6 separate regions of the Homo sapiens genome follow, and all the other regions are linked to region 1. The links are contacts of gene promoters, found by promoter capture Hi-C in blood cells and fetal thymus (Javierre and others, 2016). All regions are on one chromosome and are shown on one strand. The core of a region is centred on a gene start or on the middle of the fragment in contact, and the rest is flanking DNA. Distances in the headings are between cores, read along the strand shown.

What was found. The method cuts DNA at HindIII sites, captures the fragments that hold promoters and counts their contacts. A CHiCAGO score of 5 or more calls a contact.
Region 2: a fragment that was not itself captured here is called in contact with the fragment with the promoter of MED10 in region 1 in 2 of 17 cell types (naive CD8 T cells and activated CD4 T cells); the score reaches 6.4 in naive CD8 T cells.
Region 3: a contact is called between a fragment that was not itself captured here and the fragment with the promoter of MED10 in region 1, in 4 of 17 cell types (naive CD8 T cells, total CD8 T cells, activated CD4 T cells and 1 more). The highest score is 8.4, in naive CD8 T cells.
Region 4: a fragment that was not itself captured here is called in contact with the fragment with the promoter of MED10 in region 1 in 14 of 17 cell types (naive CD4 T cells, total CD8 T cells, naive CD8 T cells and 11 more); the score reaches 18.7 in naive CD4 T cells.
Region 5: a fragment that was not itself captured here is called in contact with the fragment with the promoter of MED10 in region 1 in 7 of 17 cell types (naive CD8 T cells, total CD4 T cells, activated CD4 T cells and 4 more); the score reaches 14.4 in naive CD8 T cells.
Region 6: a contact is called between a fragment that was not itself captured here and the fragment with the promoter of MED10 in region 1, in 1 of 17 cell types (naive CD8 T cells). The highest score is 5.0, in naive CD8 T cells.

Annotation. Positions count from the first base shown.
Region 1 is chr5:6,376,277-6,380,402 of GRCh38, forward strand. It overlaps MED10 (mediator complex subunit 10), which reads right to left and starts at 2,271. Exons shown (of 4, transcript NM_032286.3): 1 at 2,086-2,271; 2 at 890-973. The coding sequence starts at 2,207. RefSeq lists enhancers at 2,006-2,215, 2,506-2,725. The HindIII fragment of the contact is 6,030 bases long and covers 622-4,126 here.
Region 2 is chr5:5,442,788-5,446,913 of GRCh38, forward strand. It overlaps ICE1 (interactor of little elongation complex ELL subunit 1), which reads left to right. Exons shown (of 19, transcript NM_015325.3): 6 at 381-457; 7 at 1,502-1,539. Among named protein-coding and RNA genes, the nearest start is that of ICE1, 22 kb to the left of the region's middle. The HindIII fragment of the contact is 9,536 bases long and covers 1-4,126 here.
Region 3 is chr5:5,460,684-5,464,809 of GRCh38, forward strand. It overlaps ICE1 (interactor of little elongation complex ELL subunit 1), which reads left to right. Exons shown (of 19, transcript NM_015325.3): 13 at 1-4,126. Among named protein-coding and RNA genes, the nearest start is that of ICE1, 40 kb to the left of the region's middle. The HindIII fragment of the contact is 5,661 bases long and covers 1-4,126 here.
Region 4 is chr5:5,485,944-5,490,069 of GRCh38, forward strand. ICE1 (interactor of little elongation complex ELL subunit 1) reads left to right here. Exons shown (of 19, transcript NM_015325.3): 18 at 778-876; 19 at 3,206-4,126. The coding sequence ends at 3,387. Among named protein-coding and RNA genes, the nearest start is that of ICE1, 65 kb to the left of the region's middle. The HindIII fragment of the contact is 1,891 bases long and covers 1,403-3,293 here.
Region 5 is chr5:5,504,727-5,508,852 of GRCh38, forward strand. No RefSeq gene overlaps it. Among named protein-coding and RNA genes, the nearest start is that of ICE1, 84 kb to the left of the region's middle. The HindIII fragment of the contact is 5,351 bases long and covers 1-4,126 here.
Region 6 is chr5:5,541,964-5,546,089 of GRCh38, forward strand. No RefSeq gene overlaps it. Among named protein-coding and RNA genes, the nearest start is that of ICE1, 120 kb to the left of the region's middle. The HindIII fragment of the contact is 605 bases long and covers 2,087-2,691 here.

The sequences.
Region 1 (4,126 bases), core at 1,021-3,520:
GCCATAACTCTTTCCCTTTACTGCTTAACGAAATCTAGTGATTTACATTTGCAGTTTTGCTGCAAGAAATACTAGAATGTTCTTGCTGTTCCAAGCCAGCACCATCAGGGAGAGGCTGCTTTGCACTGGTCAAGAAAGTATGAGTCCGGGGGTTTCGTCTTAACTCTGACACTTACTAGGTAAACAACCTATTGCAGTTACTTATCAGGTCCTTCATGTGTGAAATCAGAGATGTGACCAAATCAATGCAAGAAAACCTGGATTTTAAAAATCTAAAAGCTCATTCCTGTATGTGTTCTCAGGACTATTACTAACATAGGTGCACACAACTCTCGCACAGAAAACAGTGAGCAGCCTCCCCAAACATACTTGGAATAAGAACCCTTTCTTTCCTCCTTCGACAGAGCAGATATTTTCACCTCTCAGAACTAGCACTCCACGGGCAGTTTGGGAACATCAGACCAGCTTGCTTTTCAGGTGCTTCTGGCTGCCATTTTTTAAAAATTTACAATATAGCCCTCATAGGACTTTTCACCTCTTAAGGAAAAAAGAAAGTTTTGTGGCTGTTCTTTAGCCTAAGCAGGGCTTTGAGGACCTATGATGTATTTCATATATTTAATAAGCTTTTATTTACATGTAACTTTTTTTCCACAATAGAATATTAAGGATATTCTTTTTTTTCGTTTTGTAATGCCATTAGAACGGAAGTTCCATAAGGGCAGGTATTTTTGTATTTTTGTCTATTTTTTTTTCCACTGGCACATCCCCAGCACCCAGGCTGTGCCTACCACACAGCAGGCACTCGAATGCCAGTGATGAAGAAGTCACGATACCACACCATAACTGAACAAGATTTATACCCAAGACTAATATCAAGAATGTTACTTACTCAAAAACTTCTAACGGTACAGTAATATCATGAAGCTGCTGTCTGCACTTGTCAATATCCTGTAAGCCAGTAACAATAAAATTCCTGGGGGAAAGGCAAACACACAGGCATCTGGTTAATTTCGCTTGACAGCATAAGCACCACCCACAGAGCTACCCAGCCAACCGGGGCTCCACGCAAGTTCGTTCTCCTCACAGCTATGCGGGTTACACACGGTTCTGACCTCTTTGGTTAGCTACAGGATTCCTAGGACACCGTTAGAGTTACAAAATACCCTTAAATATTTGTTACTTTCCTTCTCAACTAGAAATTGCCAGTAAGGGGGATGGAGAGGGAACCTGATGAAAAATATGAACCTTCTCTCAAAAACAATTACCTGACTGTGCATATGACTGTGTGTGCGGTTTCAGCGAACACATGAGGCAGCGGACTATACTCAAAGTCTGAGGGAAAGAAAGCCATACTGTCTGGTTTAGCTTCCTCTCCTCTCTGGAGCCTTCCTACAGCATCAGGCTGGTCTGGCTATTCCCACAGCACTAGGTATGGAACCTCGAGTGCAACATTTTCTATGTCCGTGCCACATATAAAGCCCTTCTCGAAAGTGCTGTACTTGCATTTGCCTTTTCTCCAACCCAGGGCCTAGCAACATGGGCAGCACAAGGCTGTTGCCAAGAAATAATAATAATAAACGTTCTGCAACCTTTCTCAGCACCACCTCCCCGCTATTTCCTCCACTGTCAGGCCTATGCGGCAGGTGGCTTCGGAGCCTCACCTTCTGAGGCCTAGTTTAGGGCGTGCACTCACTGTGGAGCCTGCCTCCCCTCTGGAGACAGGGACTGAATTCCCAGAAGGGCTCCAGGAGGAAAAGGCTGGGAGGGGGTTACACATGAGAGGGGAGACGCTAGAAGAGAAAGCATGATTCCCTTGATAGGGAAACGTAAAGTATATCATCTGGCCATGACGACGTCTCCAAAGGGGCCTCAAAGAGGTTGGCTCTTGGCAACAGGCTGGAGCGCGGGCCCCGCCCTCTGAACACAGCCAGGAAAGGCGCCCCGGGCTCCGGGACCAGACCAGAGGGCTGGCGGGGCACGAGTAGCGGTCAGGCTCGGCTCGGGCTCCCTAGATCCCCGCTCCCCTAGCACACGCTTCCCGGCCAGGCCCTGGGGAGACCCCGGCAGCCTCGGGCCGCCACTCACAGCTTTTGGTTGAGCCCGGCCTGGCTGCTGGGCTGGAAGTCACTGACGATGATGCCGAGCTGCCGAATGTTCTCCACGAACTTCTCCAGGTGCTCCTCTAGGTGGTCAAACTTCTCCGCCATCGCCTCGGCCCGTCCCCGACCCACACAGCCTCAACCAGCAGCGCCGCAGGCGTGGCCCTACGCTCCCGCTTCCTGCTTCCGTCCGGACAGATACGACTTCCGTTTCCTCTGGGGGAGCGCGGGCGAGCTCTTGGGGGCGGAGCCTCGTTATCGGGACGGGCGTGTTGGGGCGGGGCCTAAGTGCGGGGCAGGGCGGGCTTTCGGGGATGCGGTCTGGATTCTGGAGGAGGCCTCGGCGCGCAGCTGGGCGAGTACTAACTGTTTGCACTCTCATCAGACCTGCCTCGGTCATGGGAGAAGTTGAAGACTTTCTGCAATGCAGCATCTTCAAGCAATACACACATGGATGAAAATCCTAAAGTTTGCATGAAGGACCAATAACGGTAGTTTCCCTGCCCCTCTACCAGAACCCCTGGGATCAGCGCCTGCCTGCCTCCTTTCTTCTATGTAATCGGCGGCCACCTCCCCTAGCTCTTGCTGCTAACCATGCTTCCCGGACACCTGCTGCCTTCGTAGGTCAGGGTCTCACCTCCTCGGGCCAATTCTGACCAAACAGCACCCTGTGGGGTTGCCCTGTCTTAGTAAACTGCTGTTTATCTCATTGAAATTCAGTTTAGGTCATTTCACTCTTATGTTTAAGAAACTTTTCTGCCCGATCTCCTATGATAGCGGATATCTCCTCTAGCCTGTTTGAATTTCTCAAGTGATTTATTTTACTGAATATATTTGTGGCCTGTACTTTTCAGTGCCTAGAAACAGGCAAAGTGAGGGAGCTCCTTTGCTAGATGATCTTCAGAGCCTCTCCCAGCTGTGACCAGAAATGGAAAGCCAGAGAAGGTAAGTGACTTGCCAAACTTATGGAATCAGGGCACTCCAGTTGGTGGGCTGGGCTGATAAACAGAAATGTTACATAAAATACTTCTCTCCTGATTTAACAACAATTAACTTTAGGGAATTATAAAACAAGATGGAGGCTGGGCGTGGTGGCTCAGGCCTGTAATCCCAGAACTTTGGAAGGCCAAGGCAGGTGGATTACCTGAGGTGAGGAGTTCGAGACCGACCTGACCAATATGGAGAAACCCTGTCTCTACTAAAAATACAAAAATTAGTCAGACATGGTGGTGTGCGCCTGTAGTCCCAGCTACTTGGGAGGCTGAGACAGGAGAATTGCTTGAACCCAGGAGGCAGAGGTTGCAGTAAGCCGAGATCATGCCACTGCACTCCAGCCTGGGCAACAGAGCAAGACTCAAAAAAAAAAAAAAAAGGTGGAAATAAAATATTAGACAAATAAAAAATTTTAAGTTATTAGGTAGAGGTAGCGACATGGAGTGAACGGCCTTTCTCAATTTCATAAGTAAGAAAGATAGATAATTGATGGAACTTAGGCTTTGGTAAGTATTTATTTTAAAAATTTAAGGGTATCTCTTTGCTAGTATATATAATTCCCAAACTAGTAGACAGGGGGAAGGGAATAAAGAAAACACAATCAACTCAATAGAAGGCAAGAAAAGAAGAGAATAAAGAAGCAAAGAACAAGCATGGAAAATAAAACTCACAACGTAAAGTGCAAAAATTAAAGGCACACGACTCAACAGCAAAAAAGCAAAAGAAGAAATTTATAAATGGGCAAAGGACCTGAACAGATACTTCTCAAAAGAAGACATAAAAATGACCAGCAAAAATGCTCAGCATCACATATCATCAGGGAAATACAAATTAAAAGCATAATGAGATGTCACCTTACACTGTTAGAAGGGCTATAATCAAAAAGACCAAAGACAATGGGTGTGGGTGAAAATGTGGAGGAAAGGGAACCCTTGTACACTGTTGATGGGAATGTAAATTAGTGCAGCCTTTATGGAAAATAGAATGGAAGTTTCCCAAAACTCTAAAAACAGAATTACCATATGATCCAGCAG
Region 2 (4,126 bases), core at 917-3,416, 930 kb before region 1:
TATAATGATTTGTTTTAAATTTTCCCTAGCAATACCGTTAGCTCATATTTATTATGCTCTAATATTTTTTCAGGATATGTTGAATTTTAATTAGTTGAGGCAAAAATATTAGCTGTTTGATATTTAAACCAATTATGAAGGTTTAGAATTGCAATAAAATTAGTATATTGTTTTTAAGTTTTATAGTTTTTGTTGGATTATATTGTTAGTCATATTTCATCTATTAAGAATCTGGTTACCTCTATTAAAATATTCAGTGACTATTTTTTCTGCCTAATGTCTGTTTATTTGGTTAATAGCTTATCAAAGGCAAAGCAAGTTATGACCAATGGTCAGTGACTTTCATTTTGACAATATCTGTTTTTTTTCTTTTTTTAAAGAGTTCTTTAAAGTTGTATCAGGATACTCATCAGGAATATGCTCGTGTAAAGGAAGAATGCTTGAAGAGTGATGCTCAGTAAGTAGTTACTAAATTACTATAGAAATACGGTTTTCAGTTTTGAAAATACGTAATTCTTAAGTCGGTAGTGTTTTTTTTTTTACAGTCTTTGGATTTCTTGGCCATAATTAGCTGCATGGTCTTGAACTAGTTAGTCTCTCAACCTTGGTTTCCACATCTGTAAACTGGAAGTTATATCTACTTTGAAGGGTCATAAGGAACATTAAATAAATTGTCATATGTTAAAGGGCTGCACAAAGAACTCCATAAAGGTGTTTGTCTCTGTATGTATATGCATTATATTTGCATGCACATGTGTCTGTGTGTGTCTAAAGGTGTTTGTCTGTGTATATAATGCATTATGTACTCATTCACTTGTGTCTGTGTGTCAGAACATAATGACTGACCCCTTGCTTTGTGCCAGTGCTTTAACCGATAGCATGTGGAATGGGTATCTTTGCTACTATTCATAAAAAGGGCTGTTCAGAAGCATCCCCTTGATCATTGAGGTTCATACTATAGTCATGTTATTCACAACAAATGTGAGCTATACATAAAACAGTTGAATGTAGATGTAATGAAGCAGTGACTCAGAGAGTTATCCACCTTTTCAGACTCTCAGAAATCCATCTTAAAGCAAGTGTAGCTCTTCAACCACTGCTTTCCATACGGTGGTGCTGTGACCACTGTTAACGCTATGCATGCTCCTGAAGAGTAACCTTAACTCATTAGACTCTGGACTGACTCTTAGAGACCATCTAGAAACTTCAGCTAGTCTCATGAATGATGCCACTGCAGTTCAGGAAGGGTCCCAGATGTACTCATGGCAGAAATTTGACAGGCCCATGGCATGTGTTTCAAGTGGAAAGAACAGAATTTTTTAATCCACTGTAAAGATATTTCATACTAAATAGTATATTATTCTCTCTTAGGATACTAGTTCAGACTGAACATTTGTTATACAAATATTTGTAATTTAAAAAATATGTGCCACAAATTATAAGGCATATTTTTTCCTATTCTCTCTTTCTTGCCATTTAACTTACACAATTTCGTTATTAGGAAGAAGAAACTAGAAGCTAAGGTGAAGAAGCTGCAAGGTAAGTGGCACTATTGTTACCTGAAGTTTTCGGTCAGTACAAAAATCACTGGTAACTGTATGAGGAGGTACTTCTTGATCAAATAGTTGAATTGTTATGGTTTTTGATGGTACATCCATGGATGACTGCATCAAGGGGTCTATTAGAAAGAAGTGTGAATACTACTCTCCTCTCAGTTACCAAATGGTAACATAGAGATGGAATGTGGCAAATCTCCGAAATGTTACTGCACTCAAAGTAATCGCAGCCCATACTTTTGCTATAAAAAGCAGTAATTAATGAAAGAATTTAATTTGGAAAGTTGAATCTCATAGGGCTTTTTCTTTTTTTCTTAATGAAATAAGTAGCTGGTGGAAAGGGTGGCTACTTTTAGTACCAAGAAACATGTATTTAGATAGTTATAACACACATACAGAGATTTCGATGAAATTTTGTACATTAGGGATTGTCCAGTTTGTACCTGATCCTCACCCGTGCCTCACCCTCTTGTTAGGGGTTCTAGCCTACAGTGAGTAGGTACGAGTGCAGAGGGACCATGCGAGAATCTAAGTCCTCACATTTCAGCTAATAACCTTTCAGGAACTGGTAGGAATTGAACTCAAGATCTTTTTATTTGCTTTTTCCTCCCTTCATTGTGTGGGTGGGACACAGACCTAATACCAAGTAGAGACAAAGGGGCTCTGCCAGATCCATCCTGCACACGATCTTCCTGTCATTCCAGCCTGGACTGCAGCGGGCATCTTACCTGCTATGGGTTTCTGACCCATTATCTTGCTAGTGCTCTACTTCAGAGATGGTTTATGTTCATTTAGAGCGTGAAGTTAGAGTTTGAATTTAGTTACATCCGGGCACATAGAATAATAGTTGCGGAAAGTATTTCTAGTCACTAATTTTTCTTGATTGAACCAAATTTTTTGGACTGGAACTCTAAATATTTCGGTAACAATTTTTCCTCTGGTTTGATTATTGCATGAATACTGACAATATGGCAGTAAGAATGATATTTTGTGTTCTAAGTATTGGTGTCTCTTGTAAGAATATGGAGATAAGTGTCTATTGTATTTAAACAAAATTTTTTTAATTTTTAAACTTTTTAAATTTTTTATTTATCATATTTTATTTTTTGAGACAGGGTCTCTCTCTGTCACTCAGGCTGGACAGGTGGTGCGATCTCGGCTCACTGCAACCCCTGCCTTCTGGATTTAAGAGTTTCTCCCACCTCAGCCTCCCGAGCATCTGGGACTACAGGCACGCACCACCAAACCTAGCTAATTTTTGGCTTTCACCATGTTGGCCAGACTGGTCTCGAACTCCTGACCTCAAGTGATCTGCCCGCCTCAGCTTCCTAAAGTGCTAGGATTACAGGTGTGAGCCACTGCACCCAGCCACATTTTTTATTTAAAAAAGAATTTTTTTTTTTTTTTGAGAGGAAGTCTCGCTCTGTCGCCTAGACTGGAGTGCAGTGGCGTGATCTCGGCTCTCTACAACCTCTGTCTCCCGGGTTCTGCTTCAGCCTCCTGAGTAGCTGGGCCTATGTGTCATGTGCCACCACACCTGGCTAACTTTTTTATATTTTTAGTAGAGATGGGGTTATGTTGGCCAGGCTGGTCTTGAACTCCTAACCTCAGGTGATCCGCCTGCCTCAGCCTCCCAAAGTGCTGGGATTACAGGCGTGAGTCACCGCGCCTGGCCCACTGCTTTTATTTTTTAGAGACAGGTCTCACTCTGTTGCCTAGGCTGGAGTGCAGTGGCAAAATCATAGCTCATGGTAACTCTGCCTTCAGGTGATCCTCCAGCCTCAGCCTCCAGAGTAGATGGGACTATAGGTGTGTGCTACCACACCTGCCTTTTAAATTTTTTGTAGAGATAGGGTTGCCCAGGCTGGTCTTGAACTCCTTGGCTTGAGTGATTCTCCTGCCTCAGTCTCCCAAAGTGCTGATACTACAGGTGTGAGCCACTGTGCCCAGCCAAGGAAATTATTTTTTTGAGACAGGGTCTCACTCCGTCACCTAGGCTGGAGTACAGTGGTGCAGTCATGGCTTACTGCAGCCTCAGCCTCCCAGACTCAGGTGATTATTCCACCTCCTGAGTAGCTGGGAACTACAGGTGTGCACCACGACACCCGACTAATTTCGACTAATTTTTGTAGAGACAGAGTTCCACTATGTTGCCCAGGCTGGTCTTGAACTCCTGGGCTCAAGAAACCTGCTCATCCTCCCAAAGTGCTGGGATCACAGTCGTGAGCCACTGCAAGGAAACATCTTTAAAGAAATCTGAAGTGCCAGTGAGACTATATATACAGGTTTTAGAACAGACTTTCTGTGAAGCAAAATGCCGCCTTTATTTTTCGTGTATAAAAAGTAGTTTTTCTAGTAAAAAAAATTTATCGGTGTGACTTAATAAAGATTACTGAGAAAAAAAATATCCAAACTTGTTAGAGGAGTCAGGAGAGGATTGTTACTGAGGTGTTTCATGGAGTTTTAGTTAGTAATTGTATATGAGCATAGTTATGTAAAGTCAGTACTGGTCAGATTCTTAATAGTATGTCTGGACCATTTGAGGCTTCAGAAACAAAAATGAAAATGAA
Region 3 (4,126 bases), core at 774-3,273, 920 kb before region 1:
AGAATCTTCTGCCACACACTCCTTAGTTGGTGAAAAACACTGGACCACAGCATCTCGATCCATGAGTGATAGAAAAAGAGACATTTTACATGAGACAAAAACACAAATGGAGGTTAGGGAGATGGATAAGTCAGTACAAACTGAGAAGACCATTCATAAACTCACTCGAGGTCTATGCATTGAGAGATTGTCTGCCAGCCCTGCACAAGAGAAGGAAGCTGCCCCTGGGAAGTCTGAGTTGTGTTCTTCTCCCCTTGGCAAAAGGCCATTAAATGAACTCATGGAATCTGAAGGAAAAACCGTATTGTCTAAAATGATGGGATCGCCCAAATCAGAGTTTACTAAGTGGACACGAATTAATGAAATCACTTCTGAACCAGACCGTATCACAGTTTCTGGCCATTTTCACAGACTATCTAGAGAATTGGAAAAGGAAAAAGAAGATACTCAAGGGTTCACTTTAGGAGAATCACCTGAATCAGAAGATGATGACTCAGGTGATGGAATGGATGTAGCAGGGCTTGACATTGAAACCAGTTTTTCTTCCTCTTCTACCTTGGTAGCATTGTCTGTTGGCAGTAATCCCCAGTCTTCTTCTGGGTTAGACTGTGGTAATGATACAGATATTACTACTAAAGTATTCTCTACTGAACCGCATCATTCAGAACATAAATTGCAAACTAAAACTTTAAACACATTACATCTGCAGTCTGAGCCACCGGAGTGTTCTATAGGAGGAAACAACTTGGAGAATAGCTTGTGTGCCTTGAGCCCTGAATTGGGAGCATCTAATTTTAATGATCAGAAGAGCAGTGGGATAGAATATACAAAAGTAGTAAAAGGCTTGACCAAAATACATTCACTTCCTCGGTCAGTATTTATGAAAGCTACAAAAGATGGGCAATGTGAAAGTCAAGATCCAAGAATTGAGCTCACACTAAATAAGCCAGATTTCACATCATTAATAGGTTCTCAGGCTGCCTTGATCAAGAGTGGTTTGGGTTTTGTTAAAAGTACTTCATGGCACCATAGTGATTTATTAAGGAAAGGTGGCGAAGAAAGTCTGAGAGCCAAATCAGAACATGAACAGAAGACTAGCCATCAGTTACAAAAGGCAATGCCATTCCTACAAAATAGAGGACCAACACCCAAGCCTGATCTTCTTAGAGAAAATAACAATCCTGTAGAATTCAAGACCACTGCATCGGTGTTGCCTAATCAAGTATCAGTTATCACAAAACAGACAAGACCTGAAAAGGTTCAGAGTGCCAAATTGGAACACTTGAGGCCACATAGGGTTGAGCCTACCTTAGTAACAGAAAATAGTGGCAACAAAACCGGTATGTCAACTGTAGCAAAATGTGATGGGGAAAGAGATGATACAACACAAAACATCACGGAGGTGGCTGCTGTGAAAAGCATTTCACCAGAAGTTTCTGCCTCTAGGAGAAAATTAGATTTTAATTCTCCAGGTGGTTCTTCACCAGTAGAAAATTCTGATTGTTCCACAAATAGCAGATTATCTTTCTCTCCTGAAAATATCCTCATCCAAAACCAAGACATTGTGAGAGAAGCTGCAGTGCAGGGAGATGGGCAGAAGCAAAGGCAGCCTCAGGCCACAGATCTGGACTCCAGTGGGACACATGGCAGTGAGATGCTTCCAGCCACAGAAGTGACTGTGTCAGGAGGGTTTTCTGTTGAAGAAACCAGCTGTGGAGACACAGGGAGATCTGGTGGTGAGGCCCTGGCTGTTGCAAATGATTCTACCAGCACACCACAAAATGCTAATGGACTTTGGAAATTGAAATCTACAACTCCCGGTGGTGCTTTGCCTGAGTGTTTTGGCACCACAGACACTACTTTTTCTTCAGCATTTTGCAGAAAACATGGAGAGACACAGGATACCTCCCAAAGTAGCCTGCCTGGTACCTTACATTGTTACACAGGCATTCGAGAGGGGGGAGACGACACTGAGGTAGAGAGTGAGGCATTTAGCTGCAGTGAGGGGAGCGAACAGCAAGATGCTCCTGATGACTCACAGAAAAATTTAGGAGACACAGATGCTGCTGTAGCCGAGGTGAGACCTTCCTTAGAGGTAGGTTATTTGACGTCAGCTCTGCAAGATTTTAACATAAGTACTTTTTCTGAGCTGGATAGACTTTCCACATCAGAGGTTGTGATGTTTCTTGAGAGCTGTCAGTTAGGGGATTATAGTTCAGGGGACTCTGTTTCTGAATGTTCTAGTAAAGGAACCCTAAGTAAAGAAATGAACAAAGAATTAAAGGCAAGTGAAATAGGAGAAAAATACAGAAAGCAACCCTGTGAGGAAGAAACACTTGGAACCTGTGAAGAGTGGATTGAATCAGAGGAAGATGATTATTCGTTAAAAAATACAAGTCAGCTCACTCAGTGTTCTTTGGAAACTCTGTCTGAGGTTCTGACCAAGATTAGGCAAGAACTTCAAACAAATTCTGAAGATTGCAATGGTAAAGATACTGGCAGTTTATTGCTCTTAAATGTAAATAACAACATGACCACTGAGAATTTAAAAGAGAAAAGTCCATTTCGGGAAACGACTGGCTCCTCATCACATGCTTCAGAACCAACCCCACAAGCAGCTGCCTTGGACACTGAGGGCAGCTCTCCCATCAGCGGTATGCCTCAGAATGAAAACCCTCAGAGCAGACCAGAGGCCCGTTCAGATGCAGGCAGGCAAACCGATGGTGGGGAAGAAGACCTGCCAGAACCTGTGGAGCCATCAGCCTTGTGCTCTGACTCTGTGATGGAGCCATCCATAGAGCAAAGTTCTAACTGCGAGGCCGAAACAACATTTCAGTGTCAGATAGCAACAGTGACCTCAGAAGTTATAAACGTACTTATAAATAAGGATCAGAATCTAGTCATTGAAAAGGGGGACAACTGGACAATCATCAGTGGTGTAGCTGTCTTGCCACATGTGGACCAGGTCACACTGTGTGACATTCCTGGAGACATCCCTATTTCTCAGGATCAAGGAGAGCTGGAAGCTGGTTGCATCCCAGTGACTTCTGCTGAGAAGTCCCCAGAGGCCAGTCACACTGGCCCTGCATTTCAGGAGGCTCCATGTGGCAATAATCTTTCATGTCCCCAAGAGGATGTTTCAAGCAGTGGTCAGAGCACCAACTTTGATAAGAGTCGTTTGCGAAATAGACCCGTTAAGCCTAGTATATGGATTAGTTCTCAAATCTATGATCAAAACTTCGAGACTCAGATTGTTGCGTCTGATCACACATATTATAACTCAAAACTAGAGCCATCTGGCAAAAATAAGAATCGATCAAAGATTTCAAACAAAGATCAGTCAAACAAACCAGTAAAAACTTCAGCGTCGAGCAGAGTTGAAACTCATCAGAGTGAAGTTGCTCAGTCATTTTCAGGGGAAAAAGCTAATACAAAAACTCAAAGAAGCCAAACTCAGACCATTTTAGCAAATGCTGATACATCCACTCCTACAGATTGTTCTCCTGACACACTGAGTAAAATACGGCAAGAGGTGGGGCCTCCTTTGCCGCCTCTGCTTGCTCCTCTGATAGCTACACCTCCAAGGACTTCACAGCCACTGTCTCCACTGATATCGAGTTCTAGTCCTTCCTCACCAGCCTCTCCTGTTGGCCAGGTTTCTCCCTTCCGTGAAACCCCAGTGCCTCCTGCCATGTCTCCATGGCCAGAGGACCCCAGACGTGCCTCTCCTCCAGATCCTTCTCCATCTCCATCTGCAGCTTCAGCCAGTGAGAGGGTAGTGCCGTCTCCTCTGCAGTTCTGTGCGGCCACGCCGAAGCACGCACTTCCTGTGCCTGGCCGACTCCCACCCTGTGCATCTGGCCACGCTGCTGTGGGAGGGCCTCAGGAGAATTCTGTGAAAATCCTTGACACCATGTATCCAGAGTTATCTGCCAGGGCCCGGACCCTCAACATCCTCAAAGGGAATATTCAACTCACACGAGGTCCGCCTGCTGACTGTAAGAATTTACCGGGACCTGCCAGTGCTATGATAGGATTCAAAACGATCACTTCAGCAGCAACTGCTTTTGTCAAAACTGGGAGCAGCTCTGGTGGTGACTGTAACCAAGACAAGTCAAGAGATTTG
Region 4 (4,126 bases), core at 1,098-3,597, 890 kb before region 1:
TTCCAGTTAGCCATAGTTTGTCAGTTCTTTCAATCAAAGGTGGTGTCCTATGAGAAAAAAGCGCCTAATTTCACTCACAAGACAAACAATTGGATAAGTGCATTTCTTCACAACAACCAGTGTACTCAGTGTATGGGGGAGTGCTTCCTGTGCCGTCTACAGCATGTTACAGAGTTCTGTGCTTAGGGGTCCAGGTTTAGTGAGAGTAATTGTGACTAAGTAAAATTGGCTTTTTGAGTGTGAGCACCTGGCAGTGGAGAATAACTCCCATTTAGCGAGGTGCCACTGTCTTGACTTGCACTCACAGTCCGGTAGTTTGATCTGCTGTGGCTTTTGCACCATCAGACCACATGTCAGCACTGGGAGGAAGGCACTTAACTTCTTAGCATTGTTGTGAAGTAGTTTGACTTAGAGGACACTAAGGTTTCTGTAGACTACACTTGAGAATTACTGCTCTGTGGTATAATAGCAGTTGCCAAAGTGTCAGACCAAAAATACATATTTTGGTGGGACCATAGTCTTATCTTTGATCTGTTAACTTAACAGAAGTCAGGCGTTTCACATTGGCCCTACTGAAACCATTCTTTCTTCTAAATTCTATTTATTCCATTGTAACTTGGAAAGCAACACATTGTATATCATCTGGTATAGGTGATTGCAAGACGAAATGATGAGGCATTTTGATCACCTCTTGTAAGAGAAGTGGACCTTTAAATTCTTAGGAAAAGTTAATCAACATTTAACTGGACTGTTTACATTTTGGTTTGTTTCCCCTAGGTCGTTTAGGCCAATTGGGTTTGAAAGAAGGATTTCCATCTGCTGTGAAAAATATTAGTTCGGTTATTGGTATGTTTATACAGCATGCTCACGATGAAGGTAAAACTTACATCTATTAAAATTACTTTTAAGTAACTTGTGTTTCTCATAGTTAAACCTTTTTTGGGGTCCTTGCTGTGTGCTGTGCTCTGTGCTTTGCTTGCTGCCTCATAGATTAGGGAATATTTGCAAAACATTCCAGCATTAATATTGGAATGTGTGTGTGGATTTTGTGGTGGTATTTGATTACTTAAATAAAAGTCGTTTGCCTTGTTGGGCACTGCTTTCCTAAGGAAGAAGAAAGTCTCTTCTCTTCCTGCGGCTAACATTCTGCCTCTAAAACTCTGTACTGTGTGATCCCTGACAAGTGACTTAACCTGGGCTCTCTGCGAGGCCTCCTGGGTGGAGCTGTGTCTTGACGGAATGAAATCCGTGATGTACAGTGAGATGCCAGGTATCACAGAGTACTTAGCATCAAGGGGGGAGAGCTTGGAAACCTGGAGACCTTGTGAGCAAGGCTTCGTAGTGGGGATTTCTATTATCATTTACGTATTGCATAGCATGTAATTTTATCTCTTGTGGGAGAAGCTTAACTCAAAGTAACTCTTATAAGGGATGAATCTAGTTTTTATTTTGAATATTGTATAATCAAGGAATAATACAGTTAAGCAACATGCCATCAGAAATGCACAGAGTTACATTTTAAATACTGTATAACACCCAAGATGATCTTAACATGGTAGGTTGTCTTCAGCTTTCAGTGGGAGACTGTATATTTAGCTTAATGAGAACAGTGTTTCTCATTTAAGCTGCTTTATCTGAAATACCTTCTTTAACTTTAGGATAGCTGCTGAAGTGGTACACATTTCTTCCATATTACAGTGTACTTTTTTACAATTGAGGTTGTATATTGACATAAAAGAAAGTAGCCAGAATAATGGCTAATGAGTTGTTTTGCCAGCAGATGCAGTTTACTCTGATACTACAGTGGGTGTAACCTAGAAGCTGTGGTAATCCTCGTCCCCATGAGGGAGAAGGAGGAGCTGATGTTGGGGCCTGCTATAGATTAGACCTTGTGCATGGCACTGCCCCACAGCCTAACGGGATCCCCAAGACAGCCATCTGAGTGGATGGCATTGTCCTTCTTGTATACAGGAGGAAACCAAAGCTCAGAGAGAAGAGTGATTTGCTGAAGGTGAGGCTAGGAAGTGCCATCCCTGCTGTTTGCCCAGGTCTGTCCCTCTCCAGAGCTAGCTCTTTAAATAGTGCCACATGCTGTTATTTATTAAAATTATTTTTAACCTCTTGTGTTTCTCTTACTGTTACACTTTTTTATTTGTTTGAGTCATGGCCTTACTGTGTGCCCCGTGCTCTGTGCTTTCTCATTGCTTGTGGTTTATGGGGGGGAGTAATATTAAGAGCTGCAGTTGTGCCTGCTTGTCAGCATTCATGTTTGAATGTGTGGGCTTTTGTATTATTTGAAATAGTGCTAGTTTACCTTGTTGGAGAAAACTGAGGTACACATTGAGTATATTTTATTTGAAATGCTTGGGACCAGAAGTGTTTTAGACTTCAGATTTTCTTGGATTTTGGAGTGTTTCCTTTATATTTATGAGTTGAGAGCATCCCTAATCAGAAAATCAGAATGCTCCAGTGAGTATTTCCTTTGTGGGTCATGTTGATGCTCCAGAAGTTTCAGCTTCGGAGCATTTTGGATTTCAGATTTTTGGAGTAGGAATACAGTGCAACCTCCAACTTTAACTCCTAAATTGTTTAACCTAAATTATCTAAGTAAATGAAATTTTCATAACTCTGAAATAAACTTACCTTAAAAGAGAACTGTGATAATACACTGTAATGTATAACTTAGCTGTAATCCAGAATCATACACTGTAGTTTTTGAAAGTATGGTACGCTACAAAAAGTTTTTCATTATATCTCTTATTATGTTTTCTCATTTCCAAAGTCCATTTATAAATGCTTCCCGTGGATATCTCATAGAGTCATATGTTTAATGAAGGTTTTAGGATCACGTTTTATTAAAACTTAAATATGGGAGTGTGATCCTTCCAGAACTGTTTTGGGAAGCTCAGTCGTGGCCGTGGGTGACTGGGATCTTGGAGGCCCTCTCCTTTTTAAAAACACACAAACAGTCCTCAGAACACTGCTGGGGCCAGGAAACTACAGACAGCTACTGTCTGGCTTTTCTTCTTTTTTATTTGTGGACAGGTCTTAAATGAATTTTTTTACTGTGGGTTTTTTTATATTTAATTTTCATTGCTGGCAGAAAGCATTCTGTATTTGAATAGTATTCCAGTAGGTTACATCACTAAAATTTTGAATAACAGATATTTTCTTGTTTTATGACTGATCTGAAATTTCTTTTCAGATATACCATGGGGTATACAGTTAGCAGCCGTGTATGCTCTTTGTGACTTGAGTCCCAGCAATCCAGCAGAAATTTCCAAGATCCTGGAAGCTTGGCGGAGAGAGGCCTCCAAAAGCGTTCCGTCTGCGATTGTCAGCTGCCTAGAGGAAGTCAGTGCCCTGAGCACAGAGGAGCTTGGCTGACCTGGGATGCCACTGAGGCTTGAGAAGTGCCTTGACACATTTTGAACACAAATAGTTTGATCAGCTTTCAGAATACAAAGGGAGGTTTCAAAACAAAAAGACATAAAATAGATAAAACAGACCAGAGGCTCTCCTTATTGTTTGGCAAGGAGACAGGAGAAACAAGCAGTCGCATAGTCGTTTTTCCCTAAATCTAATACGTTTCACTTAAGGCTGTTGTGATCTGTGACATATGGGTTATATTATTGTGTCTTTGTCAAACAACAAAAACTTGAACTTAGCCCTTTTTTTGCTGCAGAAAGTGTCCTTTTAGTGGCTTCTTAAAATTGAGTGGCATTTTATAATGAACTTACCAATATAAAAACATGATTTGGTTCCTGAGCTGTTGTTGTTGGACTTGTGTTCCAATGAGTGACTAGGAAAAAATAAATTGGCAAAAACCTAGAGTTTTCTGCTATCTTTGCTGGAAATGAGTTGCAAAAGTTTTTCTCAAGATGTAGTGCGTAATTGATCAGAGCAAAACATGCAGAGCCCTTAGCAGAAACCCACTTTAATGCATTTTCTTCATATCCCTAAAGTTCCTTAAAAATATGTGACAATGCATCAGGAAGAGGAGAACTGAAGAGTAGAAGTTCCCTTGCAGATTTTTTTATCAGTGACATGTAATGAGCAATTCACAGATGAGCGCAGGCAGAGCTCTGTGTGCCGTGTACATATGGACCGTGCTATGATGTGTCTC
Region 5 (4,126 bases), core at 682-3,181, 870 kb before region 1:
AGCAGATTTTTAAAATGAGCCAGATAAAAGATGCGCATTATGTACAGGAGAACAAAGATAAGTGCAGTCACTGACTTCTCACCAGACTTAATAGAAACAACAGACAGATATCCTCAAAGAGCTGAAAGGATACATGAGAGCATGCATGCACACACATATGTACAAATAACTACCAACCTAGAATTCCACATCTTGCAGAAATAGCCTTCAAAAATGAAGATAAGCCGATTTCAAAATATCAAATACTGTGTAATTTCATTTTTGAAATGAGAAAATTATAGAAAGAGAAGACAGATTCATGGTTACCGGGGTCATGGATGGATGTAGGGAAGAGACAGTTAAGTGTTTCTAAAAAAGGGCAACATGAGAGATCCTGTAGGTGATGGAACTGTTCTACATCTTGACTGTATCAATGTCTATACCTGATTATGATATTGTACTATAATTTTGTAAGTTGTCATCATTGGAGGAGACTCAGTAAAAAATATGTGGGATCTCTCTGCATTTCTTACAATTGTATCTGAATCTACTATTATCTCAAAAAGGAGATTAATTTTAAAATGAAGGGAAAATAAATACATTTTCAAGAGATAAAAGCTAAGAGAATTTCTCTCCATCAGACCTTCTCTTTAAGAAATACCACAATTGGCTGTGTGCAGTGGCTCATGCCTGTAAATCTCAGCACTTTGGGAGGCTGAAGCAGGTAGATCACTTGAGGTCAGGAGTTCAAGATCAGCCTGGCTAACATGGTGAAACCGTGTCTCCACAAAAAAATACAAAAATTAGCTGGGCCTGGTGGTGTGTAGCTGTAGTCCCAGCTACTCGGGAGGCTGCAGCATGAGAATCACTTGAACCCAGGAGGCAGAGGTTGCAGTGAGTCACAATCATGCCACTGCATTCCAGCCTGAGCGACAGAGGGAGACCCTGTCTCAAAAGGAAAAAAAAAAAAAAAAAAGAAATACTACGATAATTGTCTCAGGCTGAAGAAAAATTATAACAGATTTAACCCTGAACCTGTAAGAAGCAATGAAAAGCACCAAAAAAGGGTACATATTTGTATAATTATAAAAAACCTTATAAATTTGTGTATGAGGGAGAAAAAGAGAGTATGTTTATTCTTTAAACTGTGCATATATATCCATGAATGGTAAATTTCATAATTTAAAAAAAGGAAAGAGAGAAAAATATCAAGGGAGGCAATACCATCTGGAGAATGTCTGTCACATGTGCTGTGCTACACACAGGGGGGATGAAAATAAACTTCTATTTTGACAGCAAGGAAACCGACAGTGATAAATAAATGTGGTTAGTAAGTCAAAGTAGTCCCAAGTAGAGGAAGTGGAAAAGCAAGAGGAGGCGGTGAATTACATGAGTTTCTCTAACCCTCTCAGGTGTACTAAAGCCAGTTTTCAAATCCCGTGTTAACAGCCAAATGGAAGCAAGTCTATATTGCTACTCTATTACAGTTGCTCCTGAACAATATGGGTTTGAACCCTGCAGACTTTCTTTTGCTTCTGCCACCCCTAAGACAATCAGAACAATTTATCTTCTCCCTCCTCCTCCTCAGCATACTCAAGAAAATACAACCAGGATGAAGACCTTTGGGAAGATCTGCTTCCACTTAATGAAAAGTAAATACATTTTCTCTTCCTTATGATTTTCTTAATAACATTTTCTGTTTTCTAGATTACTTTATTGTAACAATACAGTATATAATACACACAATATAGAAAACCCGTATTAATTAACTCTGTTATTGGTAAGGCTTTCAGTCAACAGGCTATTAGTAGCTAAATTTGGGGGGAGTCAAAAAATTTTGGACTGTGTAGAGGGTTGGTGCCCTTAACCCCACATTGTTCAATGTTCAAGAGTCAACTGTAATCAATATTTTGTAATTATATTTTAAAATGTGCCTTATGTGAGATCCACTATAAAAAGAACTTGATCACTAATATACTGCATACAAAGTCAATTTGAGATGAATTATGGACCCAAATGTAAAAGCTAAAACAATCATAAAACTTCTAGAAGAAAACACAGAAGATTACGTCTGTGATCTTGGGGCAAGCAAAGATTTTTTAGGAGACAAAAAACATGCTGATAAAATTAAAAAACGATTAATTATACTTCATCAAGATAAAACAATCCGGCCAGGCACAGCGGCTCATGCCTGTAATCTTAGCACTTTGGGAGGCCGGGGTGGGTGGATTGCTTGAGCTCAACAAATACGAAAATTAGCCAGGCATGTGGATCGCTCCTGTACTCTCAGCTGCTTGGGGGATTGAGCTGGGAGGATCTCTTGAGCCCAGAAAGCAGAGGTTGCAGTAAGCCAAGATCATACCACTGCACTCCAGCATGGGTGACAGAATGAGACCCTGTCTCAAAAAAAATAAAATCTTCATCACAAAACATTATCAACAAAATAAACAGTTAAGTCACAGACTGTGAGAATGTATTCATAAGAAAGAGGATTTGTATCCAAATTACATGAAGAACTTCTAAAACTCAATGATAATAAGACAAAGAACACAATTTAAAGGAGAAAAAAAGCAAAGAGGCTGTTCACAAAAGAAGACATAAAAATGGCAAATAAGCACATGAAAACCTGCTCAACTTCATCAACCATCAAGAAAATACAAACTAGACACCCCAGGAGCTCCTACCGCATGCTGCCCTAGAAGACCTGCAATGCCCAAGGCTGACTGCAGCAGGTGCTGGGAGGAATGCGGAGCCCTGGGATGCTTATCTGCTGCTGGCAGGGGTGGAAAATGGTACAGCCACTTTGGCAAACTGTCTGTCTTCTCCTAAAATAATATACTTCCATCCTATGACCCAGTGATGTCATTCCCAGGTATTTGTCAAAAATAAATGCAATATATTCATAAAAGTTCCTTTACAAAAAAGACTTTTATAATAGTCAAACCTGGATTGTTTAATCAACACGTGGGTAAATTATGCTTTGCTCATGCACTTGGATAGCAGTCAGCACACAATATGCATGAGTCTCAAGAGTAACAGGCTAAGAGGAGTACAGCAAACACAGAAGTGTACATCCCAGGTGATTTAATCCATACAAACTTGAAGAAATAAGCACAAGAGACTGAGGGTGACAGAAATCTGATCAGTGCAGGTTTTGCAGTGGAGGACTCACGGGAAGGAGAATTAGGTGCCTTTCTGGGACGGGGAAGATGCTCTGTGTCTTGACAGGCACCGTAAGGTATACTTGAGATCTGAGCACTTCCGTGTATAAATTGCACTAAAATTAAAGTTTCCCTTGGGTGCATCTGCATAATTATGTCACCCCTGAGGCTGAGAGAGCATGGTAGGAACCACCATGGTCCTTGGAGATTCCTCAACAAAACCGTCTAGGAGGAAAAAGGGCAGAATCTGAGAGCAGCGCAAGAACCACCAGCTGTCTGTCCCTCCCTCTTCCCTCTGCAGTTCCCCATGCTGGGAGCTCTTGTGGTTCCAGGACAGCAGCTGATGGACCCCAAGGACTGGCCGCTTTTTGGGGGAAAATCACTGTTCTTGCCCTGTGGAAGTTCTAGAAAGAAGACAATCTATGCCAGCTCGGATGATTAATTTTATGTATCAAATTGCCTGGCCTTTGGTGTATGGTAGTTTGGTCTAACACCAGTTTACATGTTGCTCTGAAGATCTTGTCCAGATGTGATTAACATCTATAATCAGTTCACTCTAACTGAGATGACCCTCAAGGATGTGGGTGAGCTCCATCCAATCAGTGGAAGGCCTGAAGTGCAAAGATGGAGGTTTCCCAAAGAAGAAGAAATTCTGTCTGAAGACTGCAATATGGAAACTTGAGTTTCCAGCCTGCTGCTCTGTGGAATTTGGACTCAAGATGGCAATATCAACTCTTCCCTAAATTTCCAGATTCTGATGCCTGCCCTATGGATTGCAGACTTGCCAACCTCCACAAACATGTAAGACAATTCCTTAAAATTTCTCTCTTTGTCTGTCTATCTGTCTGTCTATCCATCCATCCATGCATCCATCATCTGTATTGTATTAGTCAGGGTTCTCCAGAGACACGGACACACCGAACCCATGTGGGGATCCATCCTCCTGGCTCTGTGTCTCTGGAGAACCATGACTAGTGCACACCAGC
Region 6 (4,126 bases), core at 1,139-3,638, 830 kb before region 1:
GGCCGCCCCCAGTCACTGTGACCCACCACGTGACTTTCACCATCTTAGATCAGCTTTGCTCATTTTGAATTTTGCAAAAGTGGAATCAGGTAGTATAATCCCCTCATTACTGGCTTTTTTCATTCAGCTCCACTTGTGAGATTCAGCCACGTTGTAGCACATAGCTATGGTCAGTTCATTTTCGTTGCTTCATGATAGTTGTGTTAGTTTTCTACCATTTATTTCGCATTCCACTGTGGATGAACATTATAATTATTTTCAGCTGTTGGCTATTTTGAATAATGCTGCCATAAATATTCTCATCCATGTCTCTTGGTGTATTTGTGCATGCATTTCCTTTGGGTATAGACCAAACAGTATAATTTTTGGGTTGTAAGGTAGGCATTCATTCAAAATCAGTAGATAATATCAAACAATTTTCAAAGCTGTTGTGCTATTGCTTGTTACCATCAGTCTTTCAATTTATCCATTTTGGATGGTGTGTCATGGTACTCTATTGTGGTCTTTATAAAATATTTCCCTAGATGCCTAAAAAATTAAACACATTTTTTGTGTTCATTAACCATTTATTTAGATGTGCTCTTTTGTGAAATACCTATTCAAGTTGTAGGGGAAGAATAATTCCCATAGGTCCTTAGTTGGAATGGACCCTGTAACAAAAGGCAGGTTAAGAAGAGAAAAACAAACAGAAGTGCATTTCATATGTACCTGGGAAGTACCCAGGGAATGAGCAGTTCTCAAAGATGTGGCTTTGAATTCCAGCTTATGTGGCATCTGCAACAAAGGACAGTAAATTTTTAGAGCAGTGACAAGACAAGGGGACAGTCCATTGGTCTCCAGAGACTACAACTTGAAGGGAGGCAGATAACTGTCAGATAAAGGCGAGCTGGTGAGGCTTGCTCATGCAGAGTCCTCTGGGACCATCGCCAGGCAGATAAGGACCTATGTTGTTGTCAGTGGGTAACTTTTTTCTTCCTGGTAGAAGGGGTGGGCAGGATTCCCTTTGTCTTTGTAAATCTATGTCTGGCTTTTAGGCAAATAGAGCACGGAGAACTTCTCTGTTTCTGCTGCTTCTTAATCGCCTTCAGCTCAACAATTCTTCATATATTAGGGTCCATATTCTGCTCTCCCTGCAAGTCTCTTGCCTGCTTTTCTCTATAGGGTTCTCTTTTTCTTGTTGATTACTAGGGTTTCTGCATGCTAGTCCTTTGGAGGTTGTCTGTGATGCAAAGATCTTTTGTTACTCCGAGGCTCGCCTTGTCACTCCCTTATTAATGTCTTTTTTGATGAACGCACTTTCTTAAATTTAACACAGCTCTGTTAGTCTTTTCATTTATGTCTTTTCCAAGGTCATGAAGATATTCTGTCATTCTCTAGAACTCTTTTTGCTTTATGTTTCACAGTTAGGTCTTTAATCCACCTGGAATTGATTTTATGTCCTGTGATTCATTTACTTCCCTATGGGTGTCAGCACCATTTACTGGAGAGACCATTATATCCTCATTGTGTTTCAGGGCCACCTTCGTGGTGCAGCAAATGACCATATGTAGTTGCTTATGCCAGTTTTCCAAAGAGGTTATTCCATTTTTATAAGATTGTTCGTCCTTATGTCAGTACCAAAGTGTCTTAATTATGGTCTAGTAAGTCTTGATATCTGGAAGAGATGTTCTTCTTCCTTGTTTTTCTCCTTAACATTGCCCCTTTTTATTGAATTGGTTAAGTATTTTTTTATAATAATTATTTCATTTCTTCTTCTTTTTTTTTTTTTTTGAGACAATCTCGCACTGTCACCCGGGCTGGAGTGCAATGGCACTCACTGCAACCTCCGCCTCCCGGGTTCAAACAATTCTCCTGCCTCAGCCTCCCCAGTAGCTGGGATTACAGGTGCCTACCACCACACCCGGCTATTTTTTTGTATTTTTAGTAGAGATGGGGTTTCACTATGTTGGCCAGGCTGGTCTCGAACTCCTGACCCCATGATCTGCCCTCCTCGGCCTCCCAAAGTGCTGGGATTATACGTGCGAGCCACTGCGCCCTGCCTAATTATTTAATTTCTTAGTCTTAGTTGGTTCAGGCTGCTGTAGCAAGCTTACCATTGACTGGGTGGCTTAAATAGCAAACATTTAATTCTCACAGTTCTGGGGCCTGGAGGTCTGAGATCAGGCTGCCAGCATGGTTGGGTTTGGGGTGAGGGTCTTATTCTAGGCTCACAGATGGCTACTTTCTTACAGTGCCCTCACATGGCACTGCCCTCACAGAGGGAGAGATTGGGCGGCTGGGGAAGAGAGAGACGTGCTCCTTATATAAGAACACTTATCACGAGGGCTCCACCCTCCTGATCTAATCACCTCTCAGAGGGCCCGCCTCCTAGTACCATCTCATTAGAGATCACTGAGGGTTCAGATTTCAACACAGACATTTTTTGGACACAGACATTCGGTTCATTACTCGGTCGTTATACACTCTTCTAAAACCAGTGATCCTGCTAAGAGAACATAACAGGTGTCCTTGACCTACCAAGTCAAATATACATAAGCAGGTTCACTCCTTTGCACTCAGTGCAGGAAATTCAGGCTGCCCTAACTCCATTTAGCTTCCTCCCACCTTATGTATTATTATGGCCATTTATTTTAATTCTGCATTATTGTCGTTTTAATCAACAATTCTGTTTAGATTTACTCACATATTTCAAGCTTCACCTCTCTTCCTTCTTCAGGTTTTAGCAGCAGATGAATACATTTCCTTGAGCATTTTCTTCAGTGTGGTTCCAATGCTGACACATTCTGTCAATTTTGTTTGTCCCAATGTGTCTTAATTTTACTTTTGTCTTTGAGATATATTTTTCTAGAACCTAACTAAATTTAAAATCTTGTTGTTTTTTTTTTTGAATTTGAAGATATCTTTTTATTCTCTTCTGGTTTTTATATCATTTCGAGTGAGACATTTGTTTTAAGTCTTATGGAGACCACTTCGAAAGTAATTTTCTTTTTTTCTCTGCTTGCTTTTTCTTTTGTTTTTAGGGATTTTTCCATCCTGTGTCTAGGTGTGGTGTTTTGCATTTATCTTGTTTGGGGTTTGTAGAACTTCTTGAATATGTGGCTTGAGGGCTTCCATCAATTTTGGAAAATTATTATTTTTTGCTTCTTTATTTTTCTCTTGTGTTTCTGGAAATTCAGTTATAAGTAATGTAGACCATCTTACCACATCTCTGCATCTCTTCTGTTCTTTCTGTAATTCTCATTACATTGTCTGGATAATTCTTTCTGACCTATCTCAGTTTAATAATTTCATCTTTAGCTTTTTATAATTTTCTCTTAAATCCATTAGCATGCTGTTATTGCAGTCCTAGAACATCCACTTGGATTTAGAAAAACAGTTTCTGGTTCTCTACAGGAATTCTCAGTGTAGCCTTTATTTCCTTAAATGTATTAACCCTTGCTATTTTGAAGTCTGTATCTGATAATGCCATTATCTGACTCACTTATGGGTGTACTATTTCTCTTTATTTTAAATAATTTTTTCTTATCTCCTTATGCATAATAATTTTAGACTGGGCATAGGCATTGTATTTGAAAACTTGTAGAGCTAATTTGAGTCTCTGGATGATGCCATCTTTCTACACAGAGGGTTTCAATTGGCTACCAGAGGGTAACTAGGCTAGGGAGTTCGAAGGCCAGGATTACTTTGACTCCTCAGGGATCGGCATGGCTCAAAGCTTGGATACTGATTTTGTCTGAGAGTCAGTGTGTTTCTGGTTGCTCTTAATTCTATAATATAACTCTTTGATGTCCCAGCCTAAATCATAGGTGCTTACCATAGCCACCGTCTGTACCTGAAGTGCCTTAAATTCCAGTTTCTGTCTCTGTCTCTGGGAATCTGTCAAGGGCTCTGTTCATCTTTACTTGTTCTGCAGCTTATTTCAGAATAAAGAGAAGCTTTTAGGGGTAAAATTGGCCCACATGCCAGAAACACCTGTCTATGTTTTATTTTTCTCTCAAACCTTGGCTGGGTAAATTTTTATTACTACATTAGCTTTCTGACACCTTTAAATACATTTGAACAATATTTTCTCAGATTTTCTTCTTGTTCACATTGAGGAGGATTCATCTGATATTAGCAGAGGTGG